4 separate regions of the Homo sapiens genome follow, and all the other regions are linked to region 2. Evidence: promoter capture Hi-C in 16 types of primary human blood cells and fetal thymus (Javierre and others, 2016). All regions are on one chromosome and are shown on one strand. Each heading gives the region's core, a stretch centred on a gene start or on the middle of the fragment in contact. The rest is flanking DNA. Distances are from core to core; before and after follow the strand shown. Region 1 overlaps TTC31 (tetratricopeptide repeat domain 31). Region 2 holds the start of MTHFD2 (methylenetetrahydrofolate dehydrogenase (NADP+ dependent) 2, methenyltetrahydrofolate cyclohydrolase). Region 3 has its middle 2.5 kb from the start of PCGF1. Region 4 holds the start of INO80B (INO80 complex subunit B).

Region 1 (3,389 bases), core at 682-3,181, 290 kb after region 2:
GGAGAGGTCCAAAGAAGTTAAATGACTTCTCCAGAATCAAACAGGCAGGTAGTGTCAGAGTGAAAATTTGGACAAGCTGGACATGATGGTGCAAACCTGAAGTCCCATCTACTCAGGAGGCTCAGGCAGGAGGATCGCTTGAGCCTAGGTGTTTGGGTCTAGCCTGGGCAACACAGCAAGACCCTGTCTCAGAAACAAACAAAAAATAGTCGGCCGGGCACAGGGGCTCACACCTGCAATCCCAGCACTTTGGGAGGCTGAGGCGGGTGGATCACTTGAGGTCAAGAGTTCAAGACAACTTGGCCAACATGGTGAAACCGCCTCTCTACTAAAAATACAAATGGTATTGTGGCGTGTGCCTGTAATCCCAGCTACTTGGGAGGGTGAGGCAGGAGAATCGCTTGAACACGGGAGGCAGAGGTTGCAGTGAGTTGAGATCATACCACTGCACTCCAGCCTGGGTGACAGAGCAAGAATCCACCTCAAAAGAAAAAATAACCTCAGATGCAAGTGGCTCCACTCCAGCACAATGCCCTTTGGAATTCCATGCTGCCTGGCCAATGAGGAGAGCAATAGAAAGCAATCAATAACAAGTTTCTAAATTGTGTAACACAGATAATGTGGTTGCAGGTTAGTTGGAGGAGGCAGAGATAATTGGAGATGAAAGGGTCTGGGAAGGCTTTGAAGGGAGATAGAATTTGAACTGGACCTTGAAGGTGAGGCAAGATGTGAGAAAGAAGCTCAAGAGTTAGGAGGGATTGGAGAGCAGCTGGGGGAAGGCCCCAAGGCTGGAGGGAGCCTGGTGGTGGGAGGGAGGACAGCAGTGAAGCAGGGGAGGATTAAAAGGAGGGCTGGAAAGGTCAGCCTGGGAGCCTTTTGGAAGGCTCTGAATCGTAGGCTGAGGAATTAGGTTCAACTCTGCCTATGGCCTTGGCAGTGGGGGATTATTGGATGTCCCTGAGTAGGGAAGTAATTTCTTAGAGCTTAGTTTTGTGGAGAAACAGATGAGGTGCAGAGGAGCGGCCAGCCAGGAGCTGCTGTACTTGTTTAGGTGTGAGCTAGCCTCAGGGTGGGTTATGTGGAGCTGTTCATACTGCAGATATGACAGGGGGCCTAGCTGGAAGAGCAGGTGGGAGGGCTTCATTCCAGGGGCCTCAGTGTGGCTAACTCAGGTTGAGGAGAGAAGATCCTGGATGGTAGAGGAGGCCAGGTTGAATACCATACTCAACCCTTGGGAAGGCAGGAAAGCAGCGAGGGGAGGTGATTCACTACAATAGCTGGGGGCAGCAGATTTTGCGGTGCTGAGGAGGGAGAGGTCAGAGCCAGTGAGAGTCTCTGGGCTGGATAGCTGGTTGGTGGCTGCCATGGTGGAGAGATCAAGCCAGCGAAGCCCTTGCTCTCTCCAGGAACTGCCCCCAACACCAGCCTCCCCTCCCCTCCCCTCCCCTCCCAGGACATAGTGGATTTTCTTCGACGGCTTGTGGAGAGTGATCCCCAGGGCCTGCACCGGATCCATGTGGATGGGAGCAGCGGGCGGCTGCAGCTGTGGCACCATGGTGGGGAGTGCAGGGACCGGGCCCAGGGATCGAGGCTGGTACCCTGGGAGGGCTGACCCTCAGATGCACCCCGCTCTCATGTCCTTTCTTTCCTGTCTCTTTCTCCCTCCTGACAGATTACCTCCTGGGCCACTTGGATGATGAAGGGAAATCAACTGGACAGAGTGACAGGGGCAAGGGGGCTGAGGGACTGGGCACCTACTGTGGTCTCCGCAAGTCCTTCCTGTATCCTCCCCAAGAGTCTGAGCCCTGCCCTCAAAGCCCCTCTGCCTCTGCCACCTTCCCCAGTGTCTCAGACAGCCTGCTTCAGGTGGCCATGCCCCAGAAGCTCCTGGTGACAGAAGAGGTGAGATTCTCAGGAGAGGGCTTTGCCGTCCCCCAGGGTTCTTTCAATCCCTGTATCCCCATCCCTATATTCTCCCCTAATTGGTACCTTTCAAGATCCTTCTATACTGCCTGCCCCCTTTCATGTTTGCTCTCCATTTCCCTGTTTCTCTCTTTTTCTGTCACCTGCCCTTCGTCCTTCAGGAAGCCAATCGCCTGGCTGAGGAGCTGGTGGCTGAGGAGGAGCGCATGAAACAGAAAGCAGAGAAAAAGCGACTCAAGAAGAAGGTGGCTAGAGCATGGCTGGAGGGTGCAGGGGAGCCAAAGGGATTTGGGAGAGGGAAAGAGGAAACTTTGTGGGAACAGGAGAGAGCTCAAGATGGCCTGCAGTGGACTCTCTTGCCAGGAGGACACAAGGGGCCCAGGGACTGGGGGGTCTCTCACAGGCCATCTGGTGCAGTGGTTCTGGAATCCTACTGTGCTGCCTAGGTAGGAATCTGCCTCCTTACATGAGGCCTCTTGCTGGTGCCTCTCTTGTCTGCTTTTTCACCTGCAAAATGAGGATAATAATGATGCCTGTCTCATAGAGCTGCAAAGATGGAATGCGAAATCTTAGCCCAGCACACGACATACAGTAAGTGTTCAAAATACATCATTGTTACCATTACTATTGCAGCGTCAAAAGGAACGGAAGCGACAGGAGCGTTTGGAGCAGTACTGTGGGGAGCCCAAGGTGAGTATCTAGGGCAGGTACTAAGAGCACCAAGTGCCAGGAAGGTGAGGGCCAAGAAAGCAGGCAGCTCAAGGTGATCCCAACTCTGTACCTGTCTATCTTTCTTCCAGGCCAGCACTACCTCAGATGGAGATGAGAGCCCCCCATCCAGCCCTGGAAACCCAGTTCAGGGACAGTGTGGTGAAGAAGAGGTGAGAGCCCCTTTTTTCCCTTCTTGGTCTCTGCTCATTTTCCTCCTCCTCCTCCAGAATGTACTTCATCCCCACCCCCTCCCTAACTTTCCATTTTGTTCACAGGACTCACTGGATCTATCTAGCACTTTTGTGTCTCTGGCTTTGCGCAAGGTTGGGGATTGGCCCCTCAGTGCCCGCAGAGAGAAGGGACTGAACCAGGAGCCCCAAGGCAGGGGTCTGGCCCTCCAGAAGATGGGTCAAGAGGAAGAGAGCCCTCCAAGAGAGGAGAGGCCCCAGCAGAGTCCAAAGGTACAGGTGAGGTGGCTGAAGAACCTTATTCAGCTGGAACCGTGGAAGGGGCACAAGGAGCTGCTGGGGAGGCACAGGGTCTAAGGATTGACACAGGGTCCAGTGGGAGTTCTCTGGCTCTAGGGTCAAGAGACCTACAGTCAGGCCCCATCACTGTCACCATGACCCCGGGTGGTTTCCTGTCTAGGAAGATAGGGCTGATACCATCTTGTAGGGCTGTCATGAGGATTACATGAGTTGGGTAATGCTAATTGCAGTGTTACCTGTTTAAACAAAGGAGAAGGATTTGGGGAG
Region 2 (3,452 bases), core at 948-3,447:
GGGTGGTCTCAAAATCCTGATCTGAGGTGATCCGCCTGCCTCAGCCTCCCAAAGTGCTGGGATTACAGGCGTGAGCCACTGCACTCAGCCCATTTCTGTTGTTTAAATGACTCAGTCTGTGTTATTTTGTTATGGCAGCCCTAGCCAACTTATACATACAAAGCATTATTTTTTTCTGAACTATTCAAAAGTAAGTTACAGACATGGTCCTTTAGTACTAGAAGCAAGTGCAATATATTCTCTTACATTACTGCATGCGATTAGCTAACACTGATAAAATGCTATTAGCTAGTTGCAGACTTTATTCATATTTTGCCAATTGTCCTATAATGTCATCTATAGCAAAAGAGAGAAAAAAAGAAGCAAGAAAGAGAAAAAAAGAAAGACAAAAAGTTTTGGGTCCAGAATCCAATCCAGAATCAAACAGCATTTAGCTGTCATGCCTAGGCTCCTTTAATGGAGAACAGTTTCTCATTCTTTGTCTTTCATGGCCTTGGAGCTGTCAAGAGTACAAGCAATTTATCTTGTAGAATATCTCTCACTTTGGGCTTGTCTGATATTTCCTTGTGAATAGATTAAGATCTACTAGTGTGTTCCAAAGCTTTACAACTGTTTTTTTTCCTGGACAGTTTTAACATTCTAGGTCTGTGATCTTTCTTCTCAATGTGAAATGAGGAATCTGTAACCGTTTTTAGGAGACTCATTGGTTTAGGAAAATCACCTTATTAAATTTACAGACTTGTTAAGAGCTACGAAGTGATGTGTCTCCTCAATGGATCCTATCAGAAGGCATATATGTGTGTTCCCTTACTGGGTGGTGCTAACTTTGATCACGTGGTTGAAGCAGTAACTGTCATGTTTCTTCACTGTAAATTTACCATTTTCCTTTCCTTCCTGGAGGCTAGAAGTAAAGGTCAAGGTGTTGACAGGATTGGTTTCCCCTGTTCTTTGTTTGTTTGTTTTGTTTTTTGAGACAGAGTCTTTTTGTTGCCCAGGCTGAAGTGCAGTGGCACAGTCTCGGCTCCCTGCAACCTCTGCCTCCCAGATTCAAGCGATTCTCATGCCTCAGTCTCCCCAGTAGCTGGGATTACAGCGTCCGCCACGATGCTCAGATAATTTTTTGTGTTTTTAGTAGAGACGGGGGTTTCAACACATTGGCCAGGCTGGTCTCGAACTCCTGGCCTCAGGTGATCCGTCCGCCTTGGCCTCCCAAAGAGCTGGGGATTACAGAAGTGAGCCACCGCGCCCTGCCCTCCTTAAGTTTCCTTGCGGGAGAGATACTTTGAGACTATGCAAAAAGTTTGCGGGAAAAAATACAGGAAGCCCAGTTGAATCTGAATTCCAGATAAGCCATAAATAAAGTATAAATATGACCTCCCAAAGTGTTTATCTAAAATTCTGATTTGATTGGGCATCTTGTGTTTTTATTTGCTAGATCTGGCAACCCTATATGTAAATATCTTGCTCCTCATCCAACTTTCACCCAGTTGTTTTGACATCTATTGCTGCTTCTGAATCAGGGTTGCACATGCAACCCTGACGTCTGTCTCTGAATATCTTTTATGATTTTACTTTTTTTGTTGTTGTTTTGAGATATGGTCTCACTCTCGTCGCCCAGGCTGGAGTGCAGTGGCGCGCCTTCAGCTCACTGCAGCCTCAACCTCCTGAACTCAGGTGATCCTTCCACCTCAGCCTCCCCAGTAGCTGGTACTGTAGTCACGCGCCACCATGTACTGATTTTGGAAAATGGTGATTTTCTAACTCCATCATTCCTTTTACTTCTGTTCGTTGGCATTCTATCAGCTTGTCTTTTCATCCACCCTTTACAGTGCTTGGCACACAGTAGGCGCTCATATAATTGTTCAACGAATGAATGAATGAACTTTTCTCTTGTGTTGTCCGGCCTTCGGTGACACTAGCGGCGTCAGGCAGGAGTTTGACTTCCTCAGCCTATCATGGCACGTTGCCGAGGCTTCAGCGCCTTACAGGACCTCGCTCCAGGCTCTTCTGGCTCCAATCAAAAGCAGGGCTCTTTCGGACTTCGCTTACGTTTAATAAAGAAAACCGGTTGGCCCCTTCGGCTCCACCTGGCTCAACAGACAGCCAGTGGCATGCGGCAGGGACCAATGGGTGGCGGAGGGAGGCGGGGCCTGCCACGAGGCCGCAGTATAACCGCGTGGCCCGCGCGCGCGCTTCCCTCCCGGCGCAGTCACCGGCGCGGTCTATGGCTGCGACTTCTCTAATGTCTGCTTTGGCTGCCCGGCTGCTGCAGCCCGCGCACAGCTGCTCCCTTCGCCTTCGCCCTTTCCACCTCGCGGCAGTTCGGTAAGAGGGTCACAGAGCTCGGTCAGCGCGGAAAGCTGAGGGGAACGGAGGGCGAGGGGCACGCCGGGCCCCCGAGGGACACCGAGGGAAGTCCTTCCCGAACATCTCCGCCCCGGCGGTGGTGGCCGCTGAGGGGTGTGGCGGGGCGACGTGGCACCGAGCGCCGCCGCAGCTCTCGACTGGGGCGCTTCCTCGGCGCGGAGGGCTGGTACCCGAAGCCCGCCTTTCGGAGGGAGCCGCTCTCCTGCGACTCGGGGCGTCGCCGGGGCCCGTGGCCAGTCGGCGGGCGGGACGGGGGTGGCGTGCGGAACGCGAAGGCATCAGTTTACGCGGAGCCTTCCGACAGCGCCGGCCGCCTCTGGCTGGGATGCTGAGAGTCGTCTGGGGGAGAACAGGCGAGGGTTCCAAAAGAGCAGCCCTCGGCGAGTTGTCCTTGCGGGGACCCTAGCGGCGGAGGGCGCTGCTGCAGCTGATGAAATCGCGGAGCCGACTTGCTCGGGGTCCCCGCGCCGCCCTCCTCCCTCCGCCGGTGGGAGTGGCCCGCGCTGCCTCCGCTCTGCCAGGAACATGAACGGACTCTGGGCACCCTAGCTTTGGCTGCAGCCCACCAGAGCCTGTCAGTGCCGGGCTGCGTACATAGAGGTGGCAAACATCCGGGAGGCTCCCAGGGCCTTAGGGAAAGGGGGAATGGAGAGTGACAAGTACCCATATTTCAGCGGTACTTGCAGAATTTCAGTTTTACAAGATGAAGAGTTCTGAAGATGGATGGTGGTGATGGTTGCACAACATATGAACGTATTTAATACCACTGAACTGCACTTAAAAATGGTTAAGATGGGCCGGGCGTGGTGACACGCGCCGAGGCTGAGGCACGAGAATCGCTTGAGCCCAGGAGTTCGAGGCTGCAGTGAGCCGTGATTGCACCACTGCCCTCCAGTCTGGGCGACAGAGCGAGACCCTGTCTCAAAAAAAAAAAAAAAAAAAAAAGTTGATAAGGTTTATGTTATGTGAATTTTACCACAATAACAAAATTGGGAAAAATATACAGGGGAGGAGGAAAGGAAAAGCTCTGTTTGCATTTTTGGGTTTCCTTGGGAAGGTGATTTGGTCGGTCATTAGAGCGCTGG
Region 3 (3,248 bases), core at 11-2,510, 310 kb after region 2:
CACAATTTAGACTTGGGGGAGGGGGTGGAAGTGTGGTGAAATAGAAAGGACGTGGAGGGGAATGACCAGAGGACAGGAAGGTCAAGATGTAGATTTGAGAGTGGTAATAGAAAAAGCAGGGCCATAAAGAGTTGCGATTTTTAGCCTGAGGGCAATTGGGAGCTAGCGGACTTTTTTGAAGGGAGGTTATCCTGTGAAAGCGACATTTTTGTTCATTTCTCTTCAGAGTGAATTGAAGTGAATATGCAGCAAGAAGTTATGAGATTAGTGATTAATCAATTATTCGTTACAGCCCCTGTTTACCTACTTCCCTGGTCCGAGCCACTATCATCTGTCCTCTGTAGTGGCCTCTTGACTGTTTTCCTTGAGTCCCCCTTCGCCTGTTCTCAACATCACAGTTGAGTGCTGTTTCTCAGAGCTAGTGATTCTGATAAAACATGAAACACAAAGGACAAAGGACAATTTTTGAGATGTGGATATGTTTATTATTTTTATGGTGATGATGGTATCATGGGTATATACATATGTCAAAACTTATCAAATTGTACACTTCAAATATTTGCAGTTTATATGTCCATTATACTTCAAGAAAGCTATTAAAAATAAAGTTGAAAAATTAGGTTGTTCCTTTTTTACGTTTAAAACCTGTTGAGAGCTTCCCTTTTCAATCAGAATGAAAGTCAAAGTCTCAGAGTGGTGTGCAAGGGCCTGCATAGTCTCTTCAGATACACCAGGATATCCTTCCACTGTGTCCCCAACTTGAAATGCTTAGGTATCCAAAATGGCTCCCTCCTTCTTTCAGGTCTTTACTCATGAGGCTGCTGTAATCACTCTAGATGAATAACAACTCACCCACCCTTTCACTTCCTTGCTCTTTTTTTTCTGGTTAGCACTTATTAGCATTCTATCATTTATTATTATTTAATATACATTTCTAATATATATTATATTTTCTAGTTATTTTCAGAAAATATTTTCTAGAAAACATATTTCCTAGTTTTTCATCTGCCTTTTCCACTAGACTATAAGCTTCTCAGTGGCAAGGATTTTTTTTCCTCTGTTGTGTTCACAGATATAGCTCCAGTGCCAGGTGCATAGTTGGTGTTCAATAAAACTTTTCTGGATGAATACATGAATGAATCCAAGTGGTGGTGATGACAGCCTCGATTAGGGTTTTAGCAATGGCAATGGAAAGGAAGGGCTGTATCTGAAACAGTTCAAAGGAAAGTATAATAGGAGGAAGTAGCCAGGAACCTGGCTTGGTAGGCCTGGGTAAGAGGGTGAATGAAGAGCTTTGGAGGGAAGCATGTCCTCCAGCCTGCTGGACTTAAGGTGGCTGCAGGGAAGCAGGGGGAGCTTGTCAGAAGGCTAGGAGAGTGAGCGGTGGGGCTGGAGTGTCAGAACAAGGGATGGAGGTCTCAGAGTTATCTGGCTGGATATGAGAGTTGGGACTTTTGGAATGGGTGAAACTTGAGCAGATGAAGAGATAAAGAAAGCTTAAGGCCTGGTGCAGTGGCTAATGCCTGTAATTCCAGCACTTTGGGAGGCTGAGGCAGGTGGATACTTGAGCCCAGGAGTTGGAGACCAGCCTGGGCAACATGGTGGGACTCCGTCACTACAAAAAGTACAAAAATTAGCCTGGCATGGTGGCGCATACCTGTAGTCCCAGCTACTTGGGAGGCTGAGTTAGGAAGATTGCTCGAGCCTGGGAGGTTGAGGCAGCAGTGAACCGTGATAATGCTACTGCACTCCAGCCTGAGCGACAGAGTGAGATCCCATGTCTTAAAAAAAAAAAAAAAAGAAAAGAAAAAAGAAAGCTTAAGTCTGAGCTCTGAAGAATCCTCACAGTCTTCAGTGGAAGAAGGAAAATCAGTGGAGGAAAAACATAAGCAGTGACTACGAAAGTCCAAAGATGTGGAATAAGATATTACAGAAGCAAAAAGAAGGGACACTTCAAAAAATAATTGATGACCAACAAAGTAAAACATGCCAGGGAAGTCCTGGAGGAGGGATACTGAACACTGGAGCTCTCTGAGAAAGGGTTACTATAATGAAGGCAGCTTGCACTGAGTTAAAACAAGAATAAATCATGATGAAATGGAGGCAGTAGGCATGAAGTAAAAAGGAAAGGAAAAGCATGATCTCTCTTGAAGACTCAGGCAAAGATTTTGTCCAGATGATAAAGATCTGAGACAGCTGAGGGGTAGGAAAGACTAAGTTGATGAGAGCCACGGACACACAGGACATGGTGAGACAGATCCAAAGCAGTGTGTATGAGGGGGCACTCATTCCAGCACCTCTATCTTCGTCTTTTTTTTTTTTTTTTTTTTTTGAGATGGAGTCTCGCTTTGTCACCCAGGCTAGAGTGCAGTGGCGCGATCTCGGCTCACTGCCAGCTCCGCCTCCCGGGTTCACGCCATTCTCCTGCCTCAGCATCCCGAGTAGCTGGGACTACGGGTGCCCGCCACCAAGCCCGGCTAATTTTTTGTAGTTTTAGTAGACACGGGGTTTCACCGTGTCAGCCAGGATGGTCTCAATCTGCTGACCTCGTGATCCACCCACCTAGGCCTCCCAAAGTGCTAGGATTACAGGCATGAGCCACCGCGCCTAGCCAATCTTGAATATAAACCAGCAGGAACCATCCTTTCCCCGTGAATCAGAGACAAGGAGGCAAGAAAGGACATTTCAAGCCAGGTTGGGGTGGTGGTGCACACCTGTAACTCTAGATACTCAGGGGGTCAAAGTGGGAGGATTGTCTGAGCCCAGGAGTTTGAGGCCAGCCAGCCAGCCTGGGCATCATAGCGAGACTCTGTCTCTTAAAAAAAGAGAAAGTCCTAGGACTGTGGTCTGGGTGACGTAACTGGATGCCATCTGTTCTTGAAGTGGGGCACTAAAATATTTTAAAAACTCTCCAGAACACTTGTATGAACTACTGAGTTTGTGACCATTCTCCTTAAAGGATTAGTTGGACAGTCCCTGGGTGGCAGTACCATCTGTGCTGAACTCAAACGGCAGGGGTGTACGGGTCTGCATGATGTTGCCTTTTTTTCATTTGTTGATTCACTCACTGATTCATTCAAGGAGGATTTATTTAGGTTGGCTGGAGACACACTGGTTACCCTGCCCCCCTGCCCCCAGACTCAACCTTCAGAGCAGAGAATGGGACTAGCAAACTCCTAACCTGCACACCAGCCCTCTTCAGAGATTATATTTCTTTGCTGTCTCCCTAGGTTTCCTGCTCCCATCTG
Region 4 (3,000 bases), core at 456-2,955, 260 kb after region 2:
AGTCAGTTATTATTATTTGCTTACTGAAGCATCTACTATGTGCCTGTGCCTGTGCCTGCTGCCACCCTAAGTATCATGAGTTCTTGATTTCCTTTATTCCTTGAAAGAGCCCTCATAGCGGTGGATCCTACTGTATTCCATCTTATAGAGCTGGATTCTCAGGTTCAGAGAGCTTAAATAATTTTAGGCCCAAGGTTGCATAGCTAATAAATGGTGAAACTGGGATTTGATAATAGGCTTGTCTGACTCCAAAATCCCTTTTCATAATCACATACTACATGACTTAATCCTGGATTCCCCAATATAATTGCTCATTGATTCTTGATAATTTTATCACTGAAATGTAAGAGACTTTTCACTGCTGTTACCTTGCTCAGACACTCATATATATTTAGATATATGTATATAGGTGTTATTTTCTAATTATAAACGTGATATATATTGGCTGTAAGAAAATACATTACATACCTAAATAGTGAAAGTTCCTCAACCCCAACTTCTACAGTTAACCAACATTAACAGGTATACATTCCTCAATTTTTTCTATGTATTTGCTAGTATATTATGCTTTTAAAAATCAGATCACATAATCTTGAAATTTACTTTTTTTTTTTTTTCTTTTTTTTGAGACGGAGTCCCGCTCTGTCGACCAGGCTGGAGTGCAGTGGCGCGATCTCGGCTCACTGCGACCTCCACCTCCCGGGTTCAAGCGATTCTCCTGCCTCAGCCTCCCGAGTAGCTGGGACTACAGGCGCGTGCCATCACGCCGGCTAATTTTTTTTTTTTTTTTTGTATTTTTAGTAGAGACGGGGTTTCATCGTATTAGCCAGGATGGGAAATTTACTTTTCTTATTTCGTGTATCAGCACATACAAACCTACCTGTTTTTATGTCTTTTTTAAAATGAGGTAAAATATACACGTTTTATACAAAATTCAAAAGGCACAAGAGGGTATAATCATAAAAAAATAGGTCGCCATCCACCCTTGTTCTCTAGATGCTCATCAGCAAATGACTCTTACCAATTTCCTAGATAGCCTTCTGGGGCGCCTCATTTCTTTTCCAAGCTGCTTAACATCCCACTGTATGGATACACCAATTCATCAGGACACTTAGATTGTTTAAATTCTGTGTCAATCTCATTAATTACTTACAACTCAACTTTTCTTAGCAATATGGTGTTCCGCATTGTACAGCTGCACCGTAATTCATTTATTCATTTCCCTACTTATGAAAATTGAAGTTTAAATACCTAAACTGCATCTGCTCTTAGGGCACTCGTGCTGTTTAACCATTTCGGCCATTTTGTCATCAATATAGTTTATGTATTCCTCCACCCAACTGTGAGTTCCTCAAGGACAGGGGCGGTGTTCATATTCATCTTTGCATCCTCTTAGACTAGCTTCCCGCACTTGGTCTAGTGTATACATTCACCAAACTTGTGTTCAATAATTGACTCATCCGCGCTGAGTTCTGAAAGCTAGCGTGGGGAGGCGGAGCCAGGGGAAAGCCCTGCCCATTTGGGCTGTCCCGACCTCAGAGGGACCGGAACGTTCGTTGGAAGGATCCTCGTTTCTCAGGGACGATTTTGGACGCGAAGCGTGCCCCGCACAAGGATGGTTGCCATGAACCGGAAGTAACTGGTTGTTTTGCTGGCTCCAGTTTTTCCGCGGGGCGGAAAAGGCGTGTCTGCGTGTGTCCCAACCATTTCTAGTCCCCTTTCCTCGCAGGACCTCATGAGTAAGCTGTGGCGGCGTGGGAGCACCTCTGGGGCTATGGAGGCCCCTGAGCCGGGTAAGCGCGAATAGATCAAGCAATTTAGGTCGTGTTAGAAAAGAAGTCCCGTTCTTGCTCCTCGGAGAGTCCAGGGTACTTCGGCCACAGGTGGCAAGGAGAAAGGCGGTGCTGTTGTTATGGTAACAGCGAGTACTGCGGGAAGGGTGGGATCCAGTAGGGGCTTAGGTTATTCAGGGCTTCCCCTGCCACCCTCCGGCCAAACACTGTCGACAGGCTTTCCTTCCACAGGAGAAGCCCTGGAGTTGAGCCTGGCGGGTGCCCATGGCCATGGAGTGCACAAGAAAAAACACAAGAAGCACAAGAAGAAACACAAGAAGAAACACCATCAGGAAGAAGACGCCGGGCCCACGCAGCCGTCCCCTGCCAAGCCTCAGCTCAAACTCAAAATCAAGCTTGGGGGACAAGTCCTGGGGACCAAGAGGTGAGGCCAAGAGGGTCATAGTTTTATAAGGGGAACTTTAGGAGCAGAGATAGTAGTTAGAAGCCGACTGGGCTTTCTAGAAGACCGAATGGACACTGTGACTTCAGGGTCCAGATTTAGGCAGCAAGAGTCTAAGAGGGTGGGGAAAGTTGGGTGTAGCTACGGAGTAGGAGGAGGAGACGCTTGCTCATTTTAAAGAGTAGTGTTGCTTCTCTGCAGTGTTCCTACCTTCACTGTGATCCCAGAGGGGCCTCGCTCACCCTCTCCCCTTATGGTTGTGGATAATGAAGAGGAACCTATGGAAGGAGTCCCCCTTGAGCAGTACCGTGCCTGGCTGGGTGAGGATCTGGAGGTGGGGAAACTGGGTTTCTTATTATACCCGCCTAAAGAAAGAAGGTTGGTTCTGAAATGGGTTAGGATTTTCCATGTCCCAGTATTAACTCAGCCAAATTAGGGTGCCCCATCTGAACAATTCTGTTTTTCTTTCTCCAACTTCCTTCCCAGATGAAGACAGTAATCTCTCTCCCTCTCCACTTCGGGACCTATCAGGAGGGTTAGGGGGTCAGGAGGAAGAGGAGGAACAGAGGTGGCTGGATGCCCTGGAGAAGGGGGAGCTGGATGACAATGGAGACCTCAAGAAGGAGATCAATGAGCGGCTGCTTACTGCTCGACAGGTATGTTGGTTCATTGTTTATTCACTCACCAAATGTATACAGTATTGAGAACTCTCCACGACCCACGCACTTTGCGTGGCATTGGGGATATCGATAGTAGAGAAAAGAC

What was found. The method cuts DNA at HindIII sites, captures the fragments that hold promoters and counts their contacts. A CHiCAGO score of 5 or more calls a contact.
Region 1: a contact is called between a fragment that was not itself captured here and the fragment with the promoter of MTHFD2 in region 2, in 2 of 17 cell types (activated CD4 T cells and naive CD4 T cells). The highest score is 7.3, in activated CD4 T cells.
Region 3: a fragment that was not itself captured here is called in contact with the fragment with the promoter of MTHFD2 in region 2 in 4 of 17 cell types (naive CD4 T cells, activated CD4 T cells, total CD8 T cells and 1 more); the score reaches 8.5 in naive CD4 T cells.
Region 4: a contact is called between the fragment with the promoter of INO80B here and the fragment with the promoter of MTHFD2 in region 2, in 15 of 17 cell types (total CD8 T cells, naive CD8 T cells, non-activated CD4 T cells and 12 more). The highest score is 15.6, in total CD8 T cells.

Annotation. Positions count from the first base shown.
Region 1 is chr2:74,488,572-74,491,960 of GRCh38, forward strand. It overlaps TTC31 (tetratricopeptide repeat domain 31), which reads left to right. Exons shown (of 13, transcript NM_022492.6): 3 at 1,454-1,556; 4 at 1,673-1,902; 5 at 2,085-2,168; 6 at 2,557-2,613; 7 at 2,724-2,804; 8 at 2,910-3,101. Among named protein-coding and RNA genes, the nearest start is that of TTC31, 7.2 kb to the left of the region's middle. The HindIII fragment of the contact is 4,043 bases long and covers 1-3,389 here.
Region 2 is chr2:74,196,418-74,199,869 of GRCh38, forward strand. It overlaps MTHFD2 (methylenetetrahydrofolate dehydrogenase (NADP+ dependent) 2, methenyltetrahydrofolate cyclohydrolase), which reads left to right and starts at 2,198. Exons shown (of 8, transcript NM_006636.4): 1 at 2,198-2,325. The coding sequence starts at 2,225. RefSeq lists an enhancer at 1,860-2,418 and silencers at 2,127-2,266, 2,457-2,736, 2,867-2,956. The HindIII fragment of the contact is 3,357 bases long and covers 600-3,452 here.
Region 3 is chr2:74,508,614-74,511,861 of GRCh38, forward strand. No RefSeq gene overlaps it. Among named protein-coding and RNA genes, the nearest start is that of PCGF1, 2.5 kb to the left of the region's middle. The HindIII fragment of the contact is 467 bases long and covers 1,028-1,494 here.
Region 4 is chr2:74,453,382-74,456,381 of GRCh38, forward strand. INO80B (INO80 complex subunit B) reads left to right here and starts at 1,706. Exons shown (of 5, transcript NM_031288.4): 1 at 1,706-1,793; 2 at 2,025-2,217; 3 at 2,437-2,555; 4 at 2,722-2,891. The coding sequence starts at 1,736. INO80B-WBP1 (INO80B-WBP1 readthrough (NMD candidate)) reads left to right here and starts at 1,642. Exons shown (of 8, transcript NR_037849.1): 1 at 1,642-1,793; 2 at 2,025-2,217; 3 at 2,437-2,555; 4 at 2,722-2,891. RefSeq lists an enhancer at 1,220-1,809. The HindIII fragment of the contact is 3,309 bases long and covers 1-2,186 here.